5 separate regions of the Homo sapiens genome follow, and regions 1, 3, 4 and 5 are each linked to region 2. The links are contacts of gene promoters, found by promoter capture Hi-C in blood cells and fetal thymus (Javierre and others, 2016). All regions are on one chromosome and are shown on one strand. The core of a region is centred on a gene start or on the middle of the fragment in contact, and the rest is flanking DNA. Distances in the headings are between cores, read along the strand shown.

What was found. Contacts are between HindIII fragments. The CHiCAGO score rates a contact against its expected background, and 5 or more counts as called.
Region 1: a contact is called between a fragment that was not itself captured here and the fragment with the promoter of MYCBP2-AS2 in region 2, in 1 of 17 cell types (total B cells). The highest score is 5.0, in total B cells.
Region 3: a fragment that was not itself captured here is called in contact with the fragment with the promoter of MYCBP2-AS2 in region 2 in 4 of 17 cell types (monocytes, naive B cells, total B cells and 1 more); the score reaches 11.2 in monocytes.
Region 4: a contact is called between a fragment that was not itself captured here and the fragment with the promoter of MYCBP2-AS2 in region 2, in 4 of 17 cell types (monocytes, total B cells, naive B cells and 1 more). The highest score is 10.7, in monocytes.
Region 5: a fragment that was not itself captured here is called in contact with the fragment with the promoter of MYCBP2-AS2 in region 2 in 7 of 17 cell types (total B cells, naive B cells, monocytes and 4 more); the score reaches 22.3 in total B cells.

The regions. Positions count from the first base shown.
Region 1 is chr13:79,311,226-79,315,861 of GRCh38, reverse strand. It overlaps a transcript of RBM26 not described here. Among named protein-coding and RNA genes, the nearest start is that of RBM26, 93 kb to the left of the region's middle. The HindIII fragment of the contact is 1,285 bases long and covers 715-1,999 here.
Region 2 is chr13:77,079,493-77,084,689 of GRCh38, reverse strand. MYCBP2-AS2 (MYCBP2 antisense RNA 2) reads left to right here and starts at 3,500. Exons shown (of 2, transcript NR_170173.1): 1 at 3,500-3,776; 2 at 4,029-4,179. MYCBP2 (MYC binding protein 2) reads left to right here. Exons shown (of 83, transcript NM_015057.5): 63 at 1,498-1,658; 64 at 2,697-2,853; 65 at 3,039-3,263. MYCBP2-AS1 (MYCBP2 antisense RNA 1) reads right to left here. Exons shown (of 4, transcript NR_046716.1): 3 at 1,578-1,680. The HindIII fragment of the contact is 5,615 bases long and covers 3,352-5,197 here.
Region 3 is chr13:79,350,643-79,355,242 of GRCh38, reverse strand. It overlaps RBM26 (RNA binding motif protein 26), which reads left to right. Exons shown (of 22, transcript NM_001366735.2): 12 at 1-23; 13 at 673-804; 14 at 2,019-2,090. Among named protein-coding and RNA genes, the nearest start is that of RBM26, 53 kb to the left of the region's middle. The HindIII fragment of the contact is 3,325 bases long and covers 1,212-4,536 here.
Region 4 is chr13:79,383,292-79,388,230 of GRCh38, reverse strand. The region is part of intron 1 of RBM26 (RNA binding motif protein 26); the gene reads left to right. Among named protein-coding and RNA genes, the nearest start is that of RBM26, 20 kb to the left of the region's middle. The HindIII fragment of the contact is 2,175 bases long and covers 1,080-3,254 here.
Region 5 is chr13:79,331,152-79,336,136 of GRCh38, reverse strand. It overlaps RBM26 (RNA binding motif protein 26), which reads left to right. Exons shown (of 22, transcript NM_001366735.2): 20 at 1,707-1,793. Among named protein-coding and RNA genes, the nearest start is that of RBM26, 73 kb to the left of the region's middle. RefSeq lists enhancers at 4,465-4,965, 4,966-4,985. The HindIII fragment of the contact is 630 bases long and covers 3,049-3,678 here.

The DNA.
Region 1 (4,636 bases), core at 108-2,607, 2.2 Mb before region 2:
GACAATAGATAATCTTCCAAAGTTGCTACTTAAAAATCCTAGGAAAGAAACTTTGGTGAACATGACTGCCATTCCCATTAATTGCTAATGAAAAACATCAAACTTGCTTAGTAGAAAAACACCTAATTTGGTATAACTTTCTTGCAGTTTATCCATATTATGTGCTTGTTACTTAATGTAATTAAAAGCATTTTAAAATTCTACTTTTTTCGTATCCACTTTTTATACTTGCTACTTCCTAAATCCTCCCTCACTGTTTATTTCATCCATCTACTCATTTCCCATCATCCAAAGTTAGCCTCTCCTTGTATACCAGGCACTGTCTGATTTCCATGTATTCCTTTTATTTTTACTGTGGGCCTTTGTGCTTAGTATACTTTTACTTCATATAATGTGATTAACAAATGAAGTGATTATCATATGGAGTTTAAGGAAATTAGATGTATCTTGCAATTACTTTGAAATCTTTGGGAAACCTTAAGAAGATTGTATCTGTTTTCATTTTTATTTACAACATCTTGGAATTTGTTCATGATTTCCTAAAATTTCTTTGCCTACCCACATCTCTGTGAAAATTTTCCATATCAGTTAAGTAGTTTTCGCAATGAAAATTTTAGACCATAGATATGTTGTATGCTGTGATCTTTTGCAGCCTAATGTTTGAAGGGAGTATGATGCAGAGAGGTTTTGGTAAAATCATTTTAGCCCAAAGCTTTGTGTAATTTTCCTGCAACTTTGATTTTGATTTCTTTCTCAAATAGACTTTTTTAATGTTTAGAAAAGTTGGAGGTCAATTTATGATGTGATTCAAGTTTTAGATTTATTTGCTATTTTCAAAGTTTTTTTTAATAGTCTTCTCTTTTTCCAGCAGAGAGAGATCATCATTGCCTGAATTTAGCTTTGTGACTGCAAGAGCAAGACCAGTTCCTGTCTGGAGACGACTGTTACAATAATATCATCCTATTATTTTATGTTCACTCTTTATCAATTTGAACAGATGTTTACATGTACTATAATTAGCATTTTATCTCTACAGTTCTCTAAGAGTACATCTGAGTCCAAAGTGTATCTGAATGTGTGCTCTGACCTTATTCTTAAATGTTTTCTCCCCATACTTTATAGCCATTTATTTTTTAAACACCTTAAGAAGGAACGAAAAAGTTCTCTTGGATGACGTATATTCAAGTCTGAGCCAAATTGAGGATTGTGTCTAGGAAATCTGTAAAGCCATACTACTGTGTTCATTAGCATGAGCAATTTAAAATGAAAATGAATTAAAAAGTTAAACATGAGTTTGGTTTTAATTTTGGGGGGATCTTAAGATATATTTCTGGGAGTAGGATAGCCACTGAAAATAATTTTGAATAGATGATAAAGTACTTTTTTATGTACTGTAATAGCTTGTGCATTTCTTCTGAATATACTTTCTGATGTTGCCAAGGTCATTTACCCAAATATTTTTTTAAAAATTCTTAGCCCTTCAAAACCAACAAAGAAAATAATTTTCTTCCAAGTGACAAATGATGATCTGTGGATTATAAATATTTTAAAAATTATATGTCTTAACATAATTTTTTCACATTTTTTTGACTTTCAATCAAGACATCGAAGACGACCTTTAAAGCAAGAGGAAATAGTGTTGTGTGCCTAACATTGGTAAAGACTAGTTTTTAACCATTTTAAGAAGTGTATGTCCAAATTATTTATAAGCAGTATGACTTAATATGGCTTAGAATTACTTATAAAGAATCTGATTAAATCTCATCCTAAATATGTAGCCACAATATCTTTTTTATAATGGGACTATAAGAAATGTTTGCACTTAGTTTCTGAGTATTCCTTCATAGATTCTCAGGAGGCATTTAAAAAGTTGGAAGCTATACTTGGTAGTAACTATATTAGAAAAGTCCAATTGACACTGATTTTTATTCACCCTTGTTTTATTTTTATCCAGCCATACTACCTTTATCACTTTTTTTTTTTTTTTTGGTGCAAAGCTTAACATTCTGCAAACTTTTTTTCCCCTTGAGTATGCATTGCATTTGTCATGAAGAGTAAAAAGAATGTAATAAACACATCAGTCATAATGTAAATTAACTGTTTTGATCCACATTGGTTGGATACAGCATGGTTAATTCTAGGCTTGGTTAAAAATACATAATTTGGAAAGTCTTCTAATATTTTAAAGACCTAGTAGTTTACAAGGCCTTTTTTTGTTGTTGTTGTTAGACTTTTGGTTCACATTTACAAACTAGCCACAGGGTGTTCATAAATATTTCCCCAAATTAGTTGAGTATTTTTAATTGTAAACAAAGAATTTTCTGCCCCTACTACACTGGTTTACTGCTAGGGTAAAGACCATTGTCTGAAGACACTAAACTTGGTGTTAACAGTGTTGATTGTTTAATGGATATGGACTACATGCCACTACCTGCAACTTTGTCATCCTGGAGTTTTTGTTTGGTTTGGTTTGATTTTTCACTTTTTGCTTTTAAAATTAAAAACAAAGCAAAACAAAATTGAAGATACCATTGAGAATCAGAATTCAAGATGACTTGATTCTCACTAAGATCACTGCGCTTTTTTAAAATTGCTTTGAGATCTAGTCAGTTACATATTTAAAATCCCCGTGTTGATTAGAGATAAGGTTTTCATTATTTTATTTTCCTAAATAGGATTCTCATGGAGCTATTGTAGATAACTGTACAGAATCACTTTTGTGTAATTGAATGAAGCAGTTTCCTCTGCATGATTGCATAATGAAAGCCTTTTATATATCTATATTTTTCAATACTTAGATTTTACACTATTAAGCTGCTCTAGTCATGCTATATTTGTTTTTTTAATAGAGTTTATAAATATTTATGCTCAAAATACAGATCAACTGAATATTTTTGGTCTTGTTTACAAGATAAATCATACTTTAAAATGATACAGGCCCCTCAAGTGTCTTAGGAAAAAGTCATTGGTGCTATAAAACCTTTCAGTATCATTTTTGAACCCATTGTTCAGACTTTGCTAGGTTTTAATCTGATTCCTTGTGATTTATTATAATGTAGCAGCATACTTATAAAAGTGGTCTGTGCTGAGTCAGATAGAGAGCCCAGCCCATTAGAAACACATCATAATTTAAGAATATGATGCAGAATGCCCTTACACTTATTTGTGCCCAGCTTCCCAAAAAGAAAATTGTTTTGTTAAGAGGAAGGCAGTTAATTTGGCTAGAATCCAAAAACTCATTCAGCATGGCTGTTTTCCCTTATTTCAAATGAAAAACTTTTCTAATACTAAAATATGTAATCCTGCTTTGCTTTAAATTCCCATGTCTGTCACTCAACAGGAGGCATAGTGATTCTTAAATATTTACGGAACATTTGGTGAGTTGTAAAGAGAAGTATTATTGCATTGTAGGTTTTTGCATTGATGTGTCGATTTTTTTGTTTTGTCCCAAGATTTCCTTCCAGCACCTTAATGAATGTTCATATGATAGAATGTTTTAAGTATCAGCAAAGCATTCATGGATGCCTGCTTTTCATTCTCAGAAGGCTAAACCTGTTTTGGGTATGATGCTACTTCAGAACATATTGTCTGGCACAAGATTTCTTCTAATAAGTGGTTTATTTAAACTCAATTTCGGTGGACTGTTGAATTGAAAAACACCAAAGGAGTCTTCTTGTCTGGAGACTGGATTGTTCCAGTTTTAAATACCTGTGCCCATAAGTATCCCATTTCATGAATGTGTGTTGGCATGGGGAAAAAATTTCCCTGCTCTTTGAGTGGAGCGAAAGCAATTGGTTAAGCTGTAGCAGCTTTTTTGTTTATTTTTTTAAAGTAATAATAAAACTTGAACTGAAAAAAGATAAAACTTGAACTAGAATACTACTCTTGTATGCTTAGAATGTTTATAGTGTTAAATGTTTATGTGGGGTTGTCAACATTTTTATTATTTATAGTTGAATTATGTTTTGTTAAATCCATATTGTTTATTATTTTTATATTTTGAAAATTTTTAAAATAAAAGTCTTACTAAAAACAGTTGTTAACGTTTTAAAATTGTCCTACATCTTACATCAGTTAATTTATACTAGAAAAAAATTGCATTCATTAGGCATTACATAATTGAGAATTCTGAAAATGTTTATACGAAGAAATGACTCCACATTTCCTCTTCCCCTCTTTACCCTCCATTTTCAGTTGTATTAAGTCAATCTTGGCACCAGTATGTCACTGGCTTTATGTCTCCTCCTTTCACAGATACATAAATCCTCATGATCCTTCCCCCAAATTCCTGACTCCTTTCCTGCTTGGAAGTTTTTCTCTTTATTCTGCTTGGCAGCCAAAAAATTCTCTTTATCATAAGTGATAAGAATAAAAATACTATTCTGATGTTAAAGAAGGAATGCCGTAGTTTCTGAAGTGAAATTGGACACAAAGTGCTTATAGTGTCAATTTGCAAAGCCGTTGAAAGTTTTCAGAACTTCTGTAATTTCCACAGTTCATCTGAGCCATTTCTTCCCCCAATCTGATTTGGCCTGCTTTTCCAGCATTCAGCATGTTCATTTCTTATTTAATAGTTTTATTGAATGATGAATGTGAATTATTTCGATTTTCATCGCATATGTATCTTCTGTCATCT
Region 2 (5,197 bases), core at 2,251-4,750:
TAGTCCAACCAGAGGTGGGGTGAGCGTGATGAATACTCCTGGCATGCCCTTGAAACCCCAGAAAGACCATACTCAAGGAATACAGACCATGCCTTAGGAGTAAGGGCAGTGCCTAAAATCAAGGGCAAAACTGAAATAACCCCAGTCTAACAAAGTCGAATGCCAAGCCTTGATGGAATCTAGATGGCCTGCTATCTCCCTGTAAGAACAAAACTACATTCTTTAGAAGACAATATAAACCAGAACTTCTATATCAGTAGAAGATAATATAAACCAGAACTTCTATATCAGTAATCAATATATGCACAAAGAAGGAGGCAAAAAGCAACCATCTTTTACTTAGCTCAGTGACATAGTTTAAAAAGTTTGATGGGCTTACATTGGTAGCAAGATGGAAGAACAAACATTCTTTGCTGTGGAGTAGCAGCTTCTTAGAGAATGGTTTGGTAAGATCTATCAAAATTCACATTAAAAATCATTCAGTAATTCCACTTTTATGAAGTTCTCCTTATCATATATGCATGTGTGAAAAGACAGATATACAAGTTGATTCATTGCAGAATGTTATATAAAAACAAAAGATTGGAAACAACCTAAATGACTGTTCTGAAGTGGACTGATGAAATAAACTATGGTATTTTTATTCATCAGAATACTATGCAGTGGGATAATATATGTTACATACATATCTAATAAGTAATAATCTCAAAGATAAATTATTGTTAAAAGAACACAGATCAGTTTGTTTCCAGTGCTGCCATTTGTGTAAATGAACAATATTTATAGACAGTCCAAGAAACTGGTAATAGAAATTGCCAGTGGGAGGGCATCTAGGTGGCTGGGCTGTAGAGACAGGGAGACTTTTTATGGTATTTTTTTATACCTCTTGAATATTTTATTATGATGTGTGTTATCTACTCAAAATAATAAAAAGTTATTCCATAGTTAATATTATTAATGGAGCCATCTGAGGGTTGTAATGAGAAATGAAATTCAACCCCTACTTCTCTTTCCTAGCTGTGGTCCATTTGCGTAGAAAGGAGCTTTTTTTTCTAATTCACATAAAAATGCTGTATGAGTTAGTGACCACCCCAACTTCTAAACATATGTTATTTTTTATACATAAACATACACACAAAACATACCTACATATATGTATGTGTATATATCCATACACATACATATATATGCACACACACTACACATACACATGCATACACATGTGGATTCACCCTACAGGTATCTTTGTGAGTACACTAGAATTGATACATTTATTCATTTGCATGCTGATTTTGCTTGTGACTAAACTTACAGCTTTTTTCCCTAAAATAATACAAGCATAATTAGTTAAAATTACTGTATCTTTCTGGGTACAATTTGGTTTTGTTGTTTGTATTTCTGTTACATGACCATTTTTTAAGTATACATAATAGTCTTTTGTGAAGAGGATTCCTTCCAGCACACAAACTGATAAACTTGTTTCAATTTCTGCCTTAGGAGAAAGATACAAGAGTATGTGAACATCCACTCTCAGACATAGTGATTGCCGGGGAAGCTGCTCATCCTTTACCACACACCTTTCACCGCTTGCTGCAGACCATCTCAGACCTTATGATGTCTCTCCCCAGCGGCAGTTCATTACAGCAAATGGCCCTGAGGTAATTTTGGTATCCACATATCCTAGGTACATTGGACAAGAGAGTTTATGGAATATTCAAAGTATGAAATGCTCCAAAAAAAGCTCTTTAAATAGTAAGATAGAATCCCTACATTATATAGATGGTGCCTCCCTCCTTACAGTCATAATTTTTAGAATGGTCCTTCCTCTTAGTTAACATTTGTTTGCCCTCCTGTAAAATGTGGCTAATGTAATTCTTAGTGCCCTAAATTATCACTGTAGCAATCTCCCTCACTTTCCCCAGTCTCCTACCTCAAATCACTTAAATGTCCCAAAAAGAGAGAGGGAAAATGAAATCTCAAAAACAAAAACCAAAATAGAGTTTTGACTTGAAAAGAATCTTGGGGAAAACAGAGCCTGGTTGTATGCACCCAGTCCTAAAAGCACCTTAAGGAGCATCACAGATGCTCAACAGATTCCAATTTCAATTTGAAATGTGTTGAGAATTTAGCATTGCTTTTACACTGTGAACCTTGTTACTAGATTCACATACTGGACTCACACTTATAAATAAATTCTCCTAATTAATGTATACAAGAAATAGATTGATGGAATGCTTGGGCTTCCCATGTTACTAATGATAAGACCAGTGGAAGAGAGATTTCTCTTTGTCCTCCTCACAAGATTTTTGAACTACAAGATAAACTATACCCTGATGAATTAGTATGGCATTGTAAGAGTAATAAATTTGAGGGGTTGTTGCAGTTGGTGTACCACTTGTTTACACAATAGATTCATTACCCTTTTTGCTTCTGTAGCCTTGATCTTCATCTGTCTAATTCTTTTATATTTAAAATGGGTCAACTTTCCTTAGAATTTACCTTGTTCCAAAGAAGTTACCTTTATTTCTCAAAAACAAAAACAATAGGAATGATTTTCTTCCCTGAATTTTTAAAATGTCTGTTACTAGAACATTAAAATTTCTTGAGATATTAGCTACAGAGTACTCATCTAAGAGTTCCTTAGATGTTCCTGGAAAATAATTATTTCGTATATTGCTTATATATCGCCTTTTTAGGTGCTGGAGTCTCAAATTCAAGCAATCTGATCACCAGTTCCTTCATCAGAGCAACGTCTTTCATCACATTAACAATATTTTGTCAAAGTCAGATGATGGCGATAGTGAAGAGAGTTTTAGCATCAGTATACAGTCTGGCTTTGAAGCTATGAGTCAGGTCAGTCATTTCAGTTATTATCCTGGTTGTCCTGTTAGTTAATAATACATCAAAGGAGAAACTGTAAGTTATTCATAATCAATTTGATCCTGTCTTCCATTATGTTTTATCTTATACCTGTTTGTTTTATCATCACGAAAGATTTGCTTTTAAGTATCATAAGTACTTATATTTGTTTCTGATAGGAATTATGCATAGTAATGTGCTTAAAGGACTTAACCAGCATTGTTGACATAAAAACTTCAAGCCGACCTGCCATGATTGGCAGTTTGACAGACGGCTCCACAGAAACCTTTTGGGAATCAGGAGATGAAGATAAAAACAAAACTAAGAACATCACCATCAACTGTGTAAAAGGAATCAATGCCCGCTATGTGTCTGTTCACGTGGACAATTCCCGAGATCTTGGGGTAAGAAAGCAAACGTGATTTACGGCTCTTTAGCTCTTTTCAGATCTTAGTATTCATGCACTTTCATTTCTGAATTTAGCAACAAGCTTTATCACCTGGAATTTCACCAACCAAACATCATTGCTATAATCCCCAAATAAATCTTAAGTCTAAAAACAAATTAATATGATTGGGAGCACTGTGGAATTCCATTTCTGAAAAGAGGTCTGATTACAAATATACCATGGCTACAGCTAAGCAAAATGAAAGTCTGCTCTACAATTTTCTGCTGCCATTCCCTTGGTTAAGATTTTCCCGTGACCTGGAAGTCCTCCCCTTAAACTCTGCTGATCAATTCTTCCAGGGTCTCTCAAACTCAGCAGAGAAATTCTAAGTAACTCCTCTAAAAAATTACTCTTTCCCTCTGCTGATTCTTTTTGTATTACTCTGGTGGCACTTAATAATAATCTTTGACCTATAGTGTAATCAGCTTTTTTTTTTTTTTCTGAGATGGAGTCTCCCTCTGTCACCCAGGCTGGAGTGCAGTGGCACAATCTTGGCTCACTGCAACCTTCGCCTCCAGGTTCAAACGATTCTCCTGCTTCAACCTCCTGAGTAGCTGGGATTACAAGCACACGCCACCATGCTTGGCTAATTTTTGTATTTTTAGTAGAGACAGGGTTTCACCATGTTGTCCAGGCCGGTCTCAAACCCCTGGCCTCAAGTGATCTGCCCACCTCAGCCTCCCAAAGTGCTAGGATTACAGACATGAGCCACTGCACCCAGCCTATCTTCAAGTGTCTACTTTGCCACAGTCCTCATGAAATAAAAAATAAGTTTCAGACTGTCCCAAATAATCATAATTTATATTCTCTTCAGCCTAGTTCATCCATGTGTTTCAACTGAATTAAATATTCTTTTATAAAAGGCACTAAACAAGAAAAAAGAGTCCTATTTGCTTGAGTATTAACAACCAAGAAAGAAATAGCACTAACTGCCAGACTGCCTTTCTTCTACCTCATTTAGAATTTTTTTCCTCAGAATGGATGTGGCTTGCTAGCAGATACAGTATTAATGGCTCTCCTTGAACCATTGCCTGGCTTCTCCTGTGCCATTTGCATATTTCCTTTCTCAGGAAGAGCCACAGTGGTAGGATTGGGTCTCAGATAACCTGGATGCAGGCCAGTCTGCAATCAGAGCAACCTCCAACTCCTGTACATCAGTGCAGGTTCTATTCCTCCCTGGTATTGAGTAAGTAAAAGAGGCTTAGCTAATATAATATGAGCTATTTCCTCCTCAGACCTAAGAATTTCCACTGGTGTAACTACTTTATCTTACTGGAAAGTCAAGTGTAACAAAGCAAAACATTTTTGTAGCTAGAACTCACTGTTCAGTGCAAAGCTATCTTTGGCTCATGGTACATTTTAAGCAAGGACATACTCTCCCTCAGAACAATGATTGCAATCAATTTAACACTTCTGTCTTTTCTAAGAGGAAATAATCATAACAGTATTCATTTTCAAAATTCCCAACATGTAAGCTGACATCTACTTTCCTTTTAACAGGCTTCCTCTATGTTATAGGTTGAGCATTCCAAATCTGAAAATCCAAAATGCTACAGAATCTGAAACTTTTTGAACACAGATATGACACTTAAAGGAAATGCATATTGGAGCATTTCTGGTTTTAGATATTCAGATTTGGGGTGCCCAGCCAGTAAGGATAATGCAAATAGAGTATTTCAAAATCCTAAAAAATCCCTAATCCAAAACACTTCTAGTCCCAAATATTTCTAATAAAGGATACTCAACCTGTATGTATGTTTTCCTTGAGTTATGTACCTCCATGTTCCTCAACCTGCCTACCACAGAGCCTTGTACACAGCATTTGTTGATTTGAGTTGTATCAGCCTACAGCACTCATATTATGCAGCTCTCCAAGGAATTAATGTTAAT
Region 3 (4,600 bases), core at 1,625-4,124, 2.3 Mb before region 2:
AGTTACAAACTACTTCTCCAAAGGTAAGAGAGGAATTTGTGTAAAAGTACGCGCATTTCTTAGAAAGCTCTTAGCATAGCGTTTACGAGTAGAGGCATTGGAATCAAGTAGGCCTGAGTTCATACCCTGGTTCTGCATTTAGCTTCTGTTACCTGTAAAGACTTGAAAAATTTACTCAACCTTTCTAACCTGTTCTCTCATAATTGTGATGTTAATTGCTAGTTGAAAGAACAGCATGGTGTATGTGAGACATATGGAATAGTCCGTGGCAGATAGGAGTACTCAGCTATGTATATTCCAGAAATTTAGACTGTAGGTTCATCTTAGAGATTCTCTCTTCTTTCCCCTCTCCCCTTTCTCCCTCCTTTTTGTCCCAACCCCCATCGGTGTGTAATGTTAGAGTGTTTATAGAGGTATATTACAACAGTATGGGTTTTGATTGTTAGAAGATATTGAAAGTTGGACTTTAATTTATTCCAGTAAATAAGTTATTTTATGCAAAGAAAACATCTTTGTATATGTGTGGATGAAATTAGAAGGCAGTTAGGTTTTGACTATAAGCTGCATTTTAAAAACTTTCTCTGCATGGGCAATGTAGTAACAAAATAACACAGGTCACTTTCCATCCTTTTGAATGAATCAACTTGTTTAACATTTTTTCCTTGTTCTGAGGTAATGCAGCCTTTAGTCCAGCAGCCCATTTTGCCTGTTGTGAAGCAGTCAGTCAAAGAGCGGCTGGGTCCAGTACCTTCAAGTACTATTGAACCTGCAGAAGCCCAGAGTGCCTCTTCAGACCTTCCTCAGGTAAAGCAAAGGTCTTACGATTGTGCCCGTAATAGGTTCTCAGTAATTTAGTTTCCCTTGGTGATTTGAATTATAGTTAATTGTATATATTTTACATAGAAATATGATAGTCTTTACATATTTGAACCCCACCTATAAGGTTGTTTTTTTTTTTTTAATTTTTACCATTACCATAACATTTTCTCAGTCTCTACTTTTCCTATAGTATTTAAATCTTAAATTCCTCTCTCCAGTTAATATTTATGAGAAAGATTTCTCTCTCACTTTGTGGAGGAGATACATGTCAGCAAAACTGCCCGAAGAGTGAAGTTGAGTACATTAAATCTTATTTTTTCCATCATCTTTTTACTTAATTAGAATTCTGTTCCGGAGATAATTGTGTAGTAGACTGAACTAAACTAAAAGCTTATGGTAAGGGAAGGCTTAAACCATCAAGTTAAGCATGCTTGATATTATACTGTTTTAAGTACTTAGACTGCTCTCTCATAACTTTGCATCACTTATTCCTGACTCTGGGATTCTTTTCTCCATATATCATTTCCTTCCCACTTCCTTCAACACTTGAGTGGCAGTTTCTTGTTTCTACATTCTCAGTCTCTGAAACTTAGCTTTCCTTTGTCTCCCGATGTTTCAGCATTTGCTGTGTAAAATAGAGTTAGGATGTAGTGTCCTACTTAGCTAGTGGATGCCACCTTATTAAAGTAGTCTTCCTAGATAATTCCTGAAGAGTAAGATGCTGAATTTCTGCAAGGACATGCAGAATGTCTATTGGTAAATTATTAGTTAATTTAAAAAATTCCCAGTCCTATCATCCCAAATTATCACCAAATACAGTATATTTGGATATAAAATAAACATACTTTAGAAGAAGTTGGCACTATTTTTAAGCTCAGTAAGTGGGCATATATTTTAATTTTTAAAATTTGAGATTTTCTCCTAATTTATTCTGTGTCAGTGGCAGGGACTTTAGCAACCACGTGGCTCAGACCTCTTAGTTTACATCATTTTTCATGATTGAATAATATTGCATACTGTTTATTTTTGTTTTCCCACATATTTTCTTTCTGTCTCTTTTAAGAAGGACCAAGTTTTTGTGGTTAGTATTGGTATACTCATAGACTCTGTATATATTAGTAGAATCAGAATGTTCAAGATCCCAACAGACTTTTATATGTTTGGGGAAACACTGAATATGTCCATTTTAATTTTTTTAGAATGTAACTAAGTTATCTGTGAAGGACAGGTTGGGTTTTGTATCAAAGCCATCTGTTTCAGCAACTGAAAAGGTAAGAAGAATAGCATGATGTGTTTGTCTTGGCTTCATAAATGTTTTCAGGTGGCATCTTAATTTTTAATTTTTTTTCATAGTTCTAAACTCTTGCTTCTTAATAGTATCTGTATCTTTTCCTACCTTTTGGTTTCCATTTGCTGAAAAAGAAAAATATTTTCCTTTTTTTACTTTTGCATCAGCATTTTAATACTTGCCTCCCACTATATTTCCATGTACTCCATTCCTTTTCTTTGTTTTATTCTTTTTATTTACTTTGTTTTCTTTAGAGATACTGTGCATTTTGATTTGACAACTCTGGCAGCCTAATAGAAAGGGCCATGATTAGGAATTTCACCTGAGTTTGAGCCCTGGCTCTTCACTTACTAACTGCATGACGTTGGGCAGTGTTCTTAATTTTTCTGAATCTTTTTACTCATCGGTAAAATGGTGATGGTAATATTTATCTTGCTCATGGGGTTTTCTGAAGATCAAATAAAATCATTTATTTACAAATATTTTTGTAAACTGGAAAGGATGATGTAAATGTAAGTTTTTCACTTATTACTAAACAGTAATAGAGGTAGCATAGCAATACATATAGTCATTTCTTTTTTTTTAAATGAAGGGGGGTAAATATTTATTAAATCAAGACCATTTATGGATATATCTTATAGTTCTGTGTAGATGTTATTTTTTTTTTTTGTTTAGGTATGAGTAAATACTTTGTCTTTGATTTTATTTGAGGCATATGAAATCACAGAATGTGAGAATTAAATAATCTTTCTTAGTTCTATATGCTTATCTTAAAGTCAAGGCCCAAACAGTGTTATGATTTCATCTGTATACTGTGAGTCACTGAGCCAGAACTAGAATTTGGGGCTCCTATTTTTAGTCCATGGCTCTTTTCAGTCTGAAGATTGGGAATCAATTTCAGAGATAATGCATCAGTGAGATAGCTGCCCTGCTGTCTTCACTATATTCTTCAGTATATTATTTTCTTTATTTACAATGTTAAACTTTGGCAGTTTTAGGTATTTGAATCTGAGTTTGTGTATCAGACTTTGCTCTTGGGCATCTCAGCATTACTTCGGGCATAATGTGCCTAAAATGAATTCATTATTTCCTATATAAATTAATTTATCCTAGCCCTTAGCTCAGAAAGTGATAACACCATTTTCTAAGCTGTGTGATCCAAAAGCCTTACAATCATTTGCTTGTGTTTGTAGACCACTTCTTTTTCTGCCACCTTCAGTTCCCTAGCCTCTGGGTGCAGTGTCTTAACTGGCATCCTGGAATTCCCCTCGTCTAGTTTATACTGTCACCATCTTACACTCAGACTTATTTTGGCGTTAATTCATTATAGAAACTTTGAGTTTCTCAGCTAAATTACTTTCCTTGATTCACAGCTCATCGATAACTCAATAATTCTGGTTCTATTACTTCTGCTCTAGTCTTTTTACCCAAGGGAGTACTTTTCTGCTCGTTTTCCTTTGGCCTTTCCTGACTTTTATTATTTTATTTTATTTTTTTGGTGGTGATTTTTCTGGAGTGCATTTCCCCCCCCGCCGCCCCAACTAAATTCCAGTCATTATTTAAAGAGTGAAAGTCTCTCTAACATCTCCCATGAAACCTCCAGATTTTTCTGTTATCCCCACCTCCTCCTTGGAATTTCTGTGCTGCTTAGTCTGTGCTACTAAATTTAGCAGTATCAAATACTTACTTGGATTAGGTTTATCCTCGTTGAAAATAAGTATTTCAGAAAAAAGAAACACTGGAAGTGTTTGAGGTGATAGATTTTGATTATTACATAATGTATATATGTATCAAAACATCACACTGTACCCCATAAATATGTACAGTTCTGTCAATTAAATGTAAAATAAAATTTAACACTAAGTTCAGCTGTACTTAGTGTACTACTGAGAAATTCTAGAGACATCTAAAATGCTCAGTTATATTTGGAGTCTGTAATGTCAGATTTGGACTTTTGAAATTGAAGTGTGTACTCATAGCTTTTATAAAATTTTTGCAGTGTATTGTGAGTACAAATTTGTAGTTGATAATATAACTTTACTAATGCATAGACTAATATATATACCCATATATTATGCTAATGCAATAAACTACTAACTGAATTTTTATGGGAAAAAAATCATTTATGGTAGCAAGCTATTTATGGGGAAAAATATTTTTGATAAATACCGTAAACAGCCTATTAAGGAAAACAGTAAGTATGTAACTTTTATTCATCTTCAGTGAGTGTCTTTACAGAGAAACATTTTATTTTTGCTTATTTTTGTTGTTTCTGTTCCCCTAATCCTTAGGGGGTTTGGGTCCAAAATACTTACAGGGCAGTGATTCAAAGAAGTCTTAGAAAGAATAGAAGAATGTTCCCCATCATCAAATATTAGTTGAAAGATTCTTTTTTTAAAAAAAATGAAGGCAGGGGAAAACCCAAAGCTTGTATCTATACAGTATCCTATGTCATTATTAAACTAAATAAATACACAAATGTAACATTTTATA
Region 4 (4,939 bases), core at 918-3,417, 2.3 Mb before region 2:
CCAGCTACTGGGGAGGCTGAGGCAGGAGAATTGCTTGAACCCGGGAGGCGGAGGTTGCAGTCAGCTGAGATCGCCACTGCATTCCAGTTTATGGCATGTAGAGGTTTGATTAGATAAAACGTTTTGAAGACAAAGGAAGACTAGTTAGCTATTTCTTAGTCTAGTTTAAGAGTGAGTTGTGAAATGCCTGAATTTAGATTGCTATAATGTTGGTAATTAGAAGCTCCTTCTCAATACATTGTGATTTGTTCTAGGGAAAAGGCAGGCATAGTTATCTGTAATACCAATGGGAGAAACAGTCAAACATACCAGTAGTTGCTATGTAACAGTGGTAGAAACAATGTACAGAAATTATATAGGTCTGGCAATTTAGGAGAAATACACAAAATGTTTCTATTAAGTAGAATTTATTTATGCCTTCTAAGGGCTCAAAATTTGGTCATGAGTGCTGAGGAAATGGGATTCTGTGACTCTTTAGAAAGACATAAAGAAAAAAAATTCTCTTGAAGATTCTAATGCTATGTACTAAATTATTTTGAAATTCAGTTAACTAAAAGTTACTGGAATGGGAAGGGAGAAAGAGCGCAAGGTGGTGAAAGCCAAATATTTTTTCACAAAAATGACCCACTTTTTCAGATCGTATGGTTCAGTGCCTTTTTTTTTTTTTTAAATGAGTAAACTAAAGCCTAGAGAAATAAAATGCTAACGCAGGATTATATAACTAGTGAATAAAGCAGAAATAACACCAGACTGGAAATCTGAAAATTGTTTTTTGGAGTACAGTTCAGTGCTTTTCTTCAATACCAGACTGCTTCATGGAAAGGCTAACAATTTGGCTTGGGACAAAGTAGGTTTGAAAGGTAATATAGGACTTAAAATATAGCAACCAGAATTTAACTAAAGTATATTTTTAGGGGTGATTATAGGCATTTTTTTTTATCATAGTTCATTATTTAGTAATCCCTTAACGATTGTTAGGGTGCTTGGCAGGTTAATAAAGTGTGTCTTATTTGTAATTATATTTATTTGTAATTATTTCTAGTTTGGCAAGTCAGCTGTTAGATGAAAAAACTGAAGCTTAGTTTGCTTAGTCTTAAGATTCATGACCGGAAAAGTGTCCATAATAATTTCTCATTTTTAAAGATAAATTTTGGCATGACTGTGGTAACCGTATCAGAAAATTTTGGTAGCAATGTTAGAGAAAGACTTAGAAGTGAATCTCTAACATATATAACCACACAGCATTAGCCAGACCTTTTAAAGAAATATGAGAAAAAGGTTAAAGGCTTAATCGACTCAGCCAAATTTATCCAACAGGATGATAGAACTAGGTTTTTTGTATTTCTAGTTTTAGTGCTATTTCTTTTGGATAATTTTGCCTTTTTGGTTTTAAAAGAAAATGTTCACTAGCCTCTGCTCTCTCATTTTAGTAACCAGAGGGATGGGTTACCTGAGATCTGTTGTTAACTAGACAGAATGTGAGTAATGGAGTGGGGGTGGCCTCTAGAACCAGTCTTTTCTCAGATAACTCAATTCTTCCTCAACTATGAATAGGAATTAAAAAAAAAAAAACCCTAAATATGAAGGTTAGTCATGGGTTACCATATTGCAGATACACCTTTTTTTTTTTTTTTTTTTTAAAGAGAGAGTTCTGTGGCTTGATGTATAACCATAATTATAACCACAACTATCTGGGCTTAATTTGTCATTTGGGCTGCTGCTGTTTGCACTGAACAGTACAAACTTTTACTTTGGTTTTGTTATCTGACTATTGGGTCTTTGACACTTAATGGGCACTTCTTTTTTTTTTTTTATTTAATTTAGAAGTTATGTAACTTCTAAAGCTATGGTTCTCAAGTGTGATATCAGGATTCCTGGAATTTCCTGAGAGCCTTTCATGGTGTCTATGAGGTCCTTGTTTTTCCAACTATGTATCTGTGTCAGGTCAGGTTTTCTTCATGTACTTCAACCAGTATAACATGTCATAACAGACTGAATGTAAAAACAGATGTAAGAATCGGCCTGTCTTCTATTAAGCCAAACAAAGGTATTTGCAAAAAGTGTAAAACTTGGTCACTCTTCTCAGAAAATTTGTATTTTATTTTGGAAAAATAGTTTTTGTGTTTTTTTTTTTAATTTTAAAAATATGGTATTTAATTTCAGGTGAGGCTATTTATCATAGAGCTCTGCCTATCCCTGACCTGCAGTGGGGATATGACCTAAATGGGGAAGATGAGTCATTTTCAGAGGCCAGTACGGATGCTGGGGGAGAGAAGAGTAGCCTCCTTTTTCTGGTTTCACTAGCTGTTAGAATAATGTAAGCTGGGAACTGCTTGGGGGCCATCATTTTTGCCACACATAGAGAGCATTTCTGAAAGTGAAAAATGCAGAATAGAGAGTCCTGGTGATATGATTTGAACTCCTGGATTCAGAAAAAAAGCCAGCCCCACATATGGGCTTCCTGTTTGTTTGCACATAAATTCTTCTTCTGATTACTCAAACAAATATAGAGAGTTTTTATGCTAGTTTTAATGGATTTATTATATCAAACTAAACTAAATTTTTTCTCAATTTTAATTCTTGATAAATATTGATATAACTCTTTTAAATAAAAAGCTGTTTGGAGTGGTTCCTATTTTTAAAGCATAGAGGGCTCCTGATACCAAAAAGTTTGAGAACCACTGTTCTAAAAGTAAGATGGAATCATGCTATTTCTTGGAATGATGTGGGGGAATAAAAGAACTGGCCAATAGTTTTCAGTGTTATAATTACATGTATTGTGATACATTTTGCAGTGATGAAGAAGTATTAATAGATTGTGTGATGCTCAAGGATGGATCATATTTAGATATGCTTATATTTTGATTTTATTTTGTAGAATGAACTGGGTGTATAATAACTCTTAATGAGTAGTCTTTGCTGTAACTAATTACTGTATATAAGTAATCTATTTTTGCTTTCTTGTTTGAATTAAGTGAAGCATGTAATAAACTACAATTAAAATTTTCAATGTATGTATTATGCTTGCTGCAATGAAATTTGGATTTTTAAAAGAGTAATTCTAAGTACAGAATATAAAATCATGACTTTGATGCAAATTAGATATTTTTCCTGAATATAAAATGAAAATTTGGAAAGAACAGACGTGGGTGCATATCCGTGTTCTAAAGTTACTCAGTTAACATATTTAAATTTAATTTTTAATTCCCACTACCACCTCCAGCTTCTTTTCAAGATTACTGAACATGGAAGCTTGGGTTAAATTCCGTGAGTTATATTCTACTGAATTTCTAAAGTCTCCAAGAAACTCGTGCAAAACAAACTTTTTGAAATATTGTATTGGAGTATTATAGCTTTCTTTACGGTCTCATTACTGTTTTGAAAATCTGAAAAACTAAAACACACTATGGGTGTGTTGGGGGATTAGTACAACCTTTATTTCCAGAGGTGATTTGTTTCTTGTTAAGAATATTTAGTTTTTAAAGATATTTTATTATAACATTTGATTTTCTGTATTAATTTGGCTTCTGTAACTTTAGTGTGTGTACTTCCCTCTCCACCCCAGATATAGTTGGAAGAGAATGACCTTCTTAGATGGTCACTTCTATGCTTTTAAAGGGTATGCATGAAGCTGGAAGTCTCCAACTGAACTGTTTTTAAAAACAAAGATGCCAGCTGGGCACTATTGCTCTCACCTGTAAATCCCAACACTTTGGGAGGCCGAGGAAGAAGGATCACTTGAGGCCAGGAGTTCGAAACCAGCCTGGTCAACAGAGCAAGACCCTATTTGTACACCCAAACAAAAATTAGCCAGGTGTAGTTGTGTGCACCTGTAGTCCTAGCTACTGGGGAGGCAGCGGTGGGAGGATCTCTTGGCAGGAGTTCAAGGTTTCAATGAACCATGATTGCACCACCGCCCTCCAGCCTGGGTAACAGCAAGACTTTGTCTCTAAAAAAATGAAATGAAAAGAAAAAAAAAAAAAAAACTTTATTAGCTGTATCCTTAACACAGTATATTCAGGAATTGACAAAGTTTTATTTTTATGCCTTTAAAATCATTGATGTGAATGACTTCATAGTGATTTGGAAATTTAATTTGCCAAAGCTCACTGAAGCAGTTAATTTGAAATCCTTGGAGAATTAAAATTGGAAACCCCAGTGTTCGTGAATGCTCACTTTGCTCCATTTCACTGGACTCCTGTCCCTCATATGTGTCAAGAAGGTCAAGTAGGCCTTAGGCTCTTTCTGATGGGTTCCCTTGGCCTGGGCTTTTTAAAATTTTTTCTTTTCCGGATAGCCATAAAGCATATTTGCATTCCATTTCCATTCCTATCTAAATTCAGATCCCTGTTTAAATGTCCCTTCAACAGAGTCCTTCCTTGATGATCTTAAATAATACTTGTTTTATCTTTTCTGTTTTCTTTCTCCTTACCTTTCTTCCTTTCTCCTCCTTTACACTTTATCTTTTCAACCTGGATTTTTCCTCAGAGCACGTGTCTACATGACAATACATACTATAAACGTATGTTTGTGTAATATGCATATTGGTTCCCCCCACCCCCCAATGTAAATTCCGTGGCAACAGTGATGTTTCTAAAAGTTGTATTTTCAGGATCTAGAACAGTGACAGAGTAGGTGCTTTTAAAATTTTCTTGAATAATGAATGCGATATTTGGACGATAATCACTAAACCCAACATACTTATTTTCTTATTTTATTCATCAAACTTTATATGAAGATGAAAGATTCCCTGACAGAAATGAGCCATTGATCTAGTGAGACATATATTTGTATGTATATTCTCTCTCTTAGTAACTATTAATATGTTTCAGATCTTTTGTAGTGTGTATTTTATCTACAGTGTAATTTTTAAAAAATGCTTTTCTATTACTAATATATGTAGATCAGTAATTGAACAGACTAATGTGTTATTTTATAT
Region 5 (4,985 bases), core at 2,114-4,613, 2.3 Mb before region 2:
TTGAAAATTCAGACTTAGGTGTTTAAAAATCATATTGGAGGCTTGCAGCAGTTACAGATATTTTGTCAGGACATAAGGAGATATTGACAGAAATGGTTTATGTTTAAGAAATAACCAAAATGATTAGTATTTAAGAATGAGGAGTCTAAAGTCCTGTTCTTGGTGGATTTAAAGGGATAAAGAAAGGAATTAAGAGAACTAGAAAGGAGCTTGGAAATAAATCTTGCCCATCTTTTCCCTGCTGTGTACCCCACTTCCACACCTTCCACAAGAGAAAGGAGAGCCAGATAATTTGTATGTTGTGTATAGTTTTACAGCTAATCAGGAAACTAACAATGAATGTGCTAAAATAATCCAAACAGACAAAGTGAGTTTGTTGTGATTTATGTTTTGGTGAGACTAAGGTGCTTTTGGCTGAGAAGTATTCAGAGCCTCTAAATGAAAATTCTGACATGCATTTGGACATTGAAATTTCACTCCAAAGTTCACATTTAAATTATTAGTCTTAAGTATGAGCACAGGTTTAGTTGAAGTTTAGCTTCTTTTCTCTCAACCTATGATTTGAACACATGATGGATGTCAGAGGAAAAAAAATTTACATTATTTAATATATGTGATGTTAAAGGACCATTAACTATTACAAATTGTGATTAACAAAAATGCTGTATCTTCCAGTACCAGTAGTAATAGTAATAAAAATTATAACTAAAAACCTATAGAGCACTTACTTTGTGGCAGGTATGCCCTCTGAGTGCCTTACAATAATTCATTATGAATTATTTGGATAACCCTGTGAGGTAGATACCTTTATTTACGCCCATTTTAGAGGTGAAGAAAATGATGCATGATGAGGTTAAGTAACTTGTTTACACAGCTAATAACTGGCAGAGCTAGAATCTTAGTGGCTCTAGGACATTCTCTTTACTGTGCTCTACAGAACATTTCTATGATATGTGTGGAGCTAATGAGATTACAGTTATAATTTTTGGGGGGGATAATTAGGAAGGTATTGATAATGATATATAAAGGACTAGAATTTTGTGGGATAAAGGTTGCTGTTTGTAGAAAAATCCTCCCACACATGAGGGAAAAAAATCCAACAAACCAAAAACAGGAATAATATAATGTGTTTAGCTTTTAAATGTTCTAAACAACTATAAAGTACAGTAGAGTGTGTAGTAAGCAAAACCATGGTCAGTTAGGGTGTTAAACTTTTGAATCAAGAGACCTGGAATCTCTTCCCATTAATTAACAATTAACTTTGGGGAAGTTACTTAAATTTTCTTTTTCTTTCTTTCCCCATTTATTGAGAATGATACCAAAAACTCACAAATTCTGAGGATTCAGTATGTTGCTTAAGAAAGAGTTTATCTTGGGATTGGTTTAGTGAGTATAAGAGGAAAGTTAGTTAGCAAGAACGCTCAGGCTTTGACCATTATTTCCTTCATTTAAAGCATAGTTCAATTGAGTATAAGTTTTACTAATTCTGGGAAGTGTGAATTGTATGTAAGATTGGAAGACAGGACCACCTTTTATCTTATCAAGTACTAAAATAAATTACTCACCATACTTTTCTGTTAACCATTATGAATTGTTATGTATTCTGGGTTATATTTATTAGTATTTTAATGTTTTTTAATACCATTAGGATTTTTGGATATTTCAAAATATTTATTTGGAGGAAATACTTTTTTTTTAATTTAAAGCAATATGGTGAAATTGAAGATTGTCAGATTGATGATTCCTCACTTCATGCAGTAATTACATTCAAGACAAGAGCAGAAGCTGAAGCAGTAAGTTTTAAAAATAATTTATCAATTCAGATTTAAATGATTTATAAGTATTACTTTTAAGTTTTAATATAAATGAATTTTTTAACTTACTAAATAATATGCTTTGACAATAGGTAGAACACCTGAAGTGGAATTCATGCCCTCAAAGAATGTCCTAATGCAGTTATAAGCAATTCTGTGTGTAACATAATACAATTAAAATACATATTTAGTCACCAAGTGGAATGTCAAATTGTGCTGTCGTGAGATACCAGGGATTCTCCTTTCTTTCTTTTTCATAGTAGATAGGGCCACTCCACTACCCATTATTCTTTTTTTTCAGCTGACCCAAAACAGGATCTGCTTTGGCAGAATGAGTGGTGAGGGATAAGGTACAAGCAGTTCTAATGTCTGCCCATCTTAGCCATTCCTCATCTACTGCTTCCTGGTCTCATCAGGTTGAACTCTAAAAGAAGTGTCCCTAGTTCAGCATAGCCCCAACTAGACTTCTATGACTTTTTGCCTAAGACATGGTCTATACCTCTAACTTTGAGGGTACTCTTAGTAAAGTTACCTTAAACTATCAATCTTGAATTGTCTTTCCAAGGACTGACCGGAATATCTGCAACCTTGTCTTTCATTTGGGTTTCAAAGATTAAAAAAAAAGGAAAATGGGAGTGAGGTGTAGGGGATTCATAGGAGCCTTTTTTGCCCTGTGTGTTCTTTCTTCAGGAATTGTAGAGAAGACAGTGTCACTGTTTTGTCCTTGCCATTGTTCCAGGGATGAAATAGTTTTCCAAATGAAAGCAATGAAAGAGTGAGATGCTTTTCAGAAGTTTTAAGTTGATTTCAACTTAAATAAGTTTTGAAAAAACCTCTACATTTATTTATCCTCTTTGTAGTGAATGTTCTCTGCCAGCACAGTGGTACATTGCTTACCTGGTAGAAGTTGCCCTTGGGGCATTGTAACCATAAGACTATGGGTCTGATAAGTCATTCAACTGGAGCCTTGAAAAAATCTAGTTTTGGGGGTAGAGGTAGGGGGTAGTATATTATTTTATAAAATAGGAATTCCTGATCTTAGGGTGTTCTCTTTTTAAAGCTAGCTTTGAATAATCATTTCTTTAATGTTCTTTTGTGAAAGTAAAAAGTAATTTAAAATTGATGAGATTTTAAAACTCATAAGCTTGTATGTGTGTATGTTATATTGAAAAAGGTAGATCTTTGATTAAATGTTCTCTCCAGGGTATTGTTAAGTGCAAGTTTAGAGTAAGCTTCCTTTCAGTGGTGGCTTCAGTTGATAATTTTTAGTCTCTTGCTAGATAGGTAGTTTTATGTTTTATGTATTTTCTAGGGAATAGTGGTATTATAAAATAATGATAGTTGTTACTGTACAAATGGTTCAGATATTGCCAAATTTGTGGATTTATTAAGAACTTTAAATATGTACTACTTCCCTTGCTTGCTTATATGGCTGAGAAAAAATTAAAACCTCTTCTTAAATAATTTTTGGAAATTTTGCTCGCGGAAAGACTTTTGACACGTACCTTCTTTCTTGGGTCTTGCTTTTTGTACCTTAGGCGTGTATACAATGTATTTTTCAAAATTAATAACAATAAAAAATACCAGGGATTAATGTATAAGGAAGACTTTAGCACTGAATTACATGAAGGTTGAATAAGTGACAGAATAACTAAGGCCAAGTTAGGTCTAATGAGAATTACCTATTTAGAGGAAATAGCTTTAGTTGGATTTACTTAATAGACTAAAAAGAGTAATGACCACTGCTATGATAAATGTTTAGATTTTTAGTTACAAAAGTTGTTAAAGCATAAGCATATCCTTAAGCCAGAAAGTTTCTTAAAATTTTGTAATGTTGAAAAGAATAGAAAATTAAGTTGAAGCTTATCTTATACAAGCAGGATACATATAGAGCAGTGGTCTTCAAACTTTTGGATTTCAGGGAACAGTAAAGTTTAGGAATTTAAAAATTTGTGTGTTTGTCATAGAGGTATCAACTTTTTATTTTGCCAGGGAAGAATACTTTAAAAATACAAAAAGATTGTCATGTTCTATCACCATTGTTATATAAAATAAAGGAAATTTTAACACTGAAAATGTAGGAGAACATGAACTCGCAGTAAAGGATAGGCCTTCCCAAGAAAAAACTGTCAGCCCTTGCCAATGTTTACTGTCAAACATTACATTGTTCTTGTTTTCTGGACCATTATCCTAGATGACTGAATGAATTTATTTTCTATAATCAATAGATGCATAGTATTTCAAGATGAAAGTACAAGAATAAATAAGGTAATTGAGACATTCAGATATAACTGAAAAGTGAGAAGTTTTCCTCAGGAAAAATATTGAAGCATTTTAAAGACCATCAGTATAAGCAGAACACTGTTAGCTTTAGGTTAAGATGGTTTATGGTTTGACTCTGCCTTGTTACCTAGAAGATGGTTCCTATTACCTTATTTTCTATTTTTTTGTCTATCACCATGCCAAAGTACTAAAGTTGGATAAGTACTCAGACAAGAGTAAAGCAGTCGTCTCTTCCATGACTGATTTGAATATTATCTTTTCTGCACTGAATTGTTACTGTACCTTTGTAGGAGCCCAAGATCCTGTTCAGAATAGGAATAATTAAGTTGCTGTTTTAGAAGAATCAGAACAAAAATGAAACCTATAGTCCCAAACTCACAGAGGTACAATTTTTTTTTTTTTTTGAGGCGGAGTCTCGCTGTGTTGCCCAGGCTGGAGTGCAGTGGTGTGATCTCAGCTCACTGCAAGCTCCGCCTCTCTTGGCTTCATGCCATTCTCCTGCCTCAGCCTCCCGAGTAGCTGGGACTAGAGGTGCCTGCCACCACGCCCAGTTAATTTTTTTTTTTTTTTTTTTTGTATTTTTAGTAGAGACAGGGTTTCACCATGTTAGCCAGGATGGTCTCGATCTCCTGACCTCGTGATCCACCTGCCTCAGCATCCCAAAGTGCTGGGGTTACAGGCATGAGCCACTGTGCCTGGCTGCGAGGTACAATTTTTTATATCAAAAGGAAAGAGGGGCCAGGCGCAGTGGCTCACACCTGTAATCCCACCACTTTGGGAGGCCAAGTGGGGTGGATCTCTTGAGTCCAGGAGTTCGAGACCAGCCTGGGCAACATGGAGAAACCCCATCTCTACCAAAAAATCAGCCAGGTGTGGTGGCGTGCACCT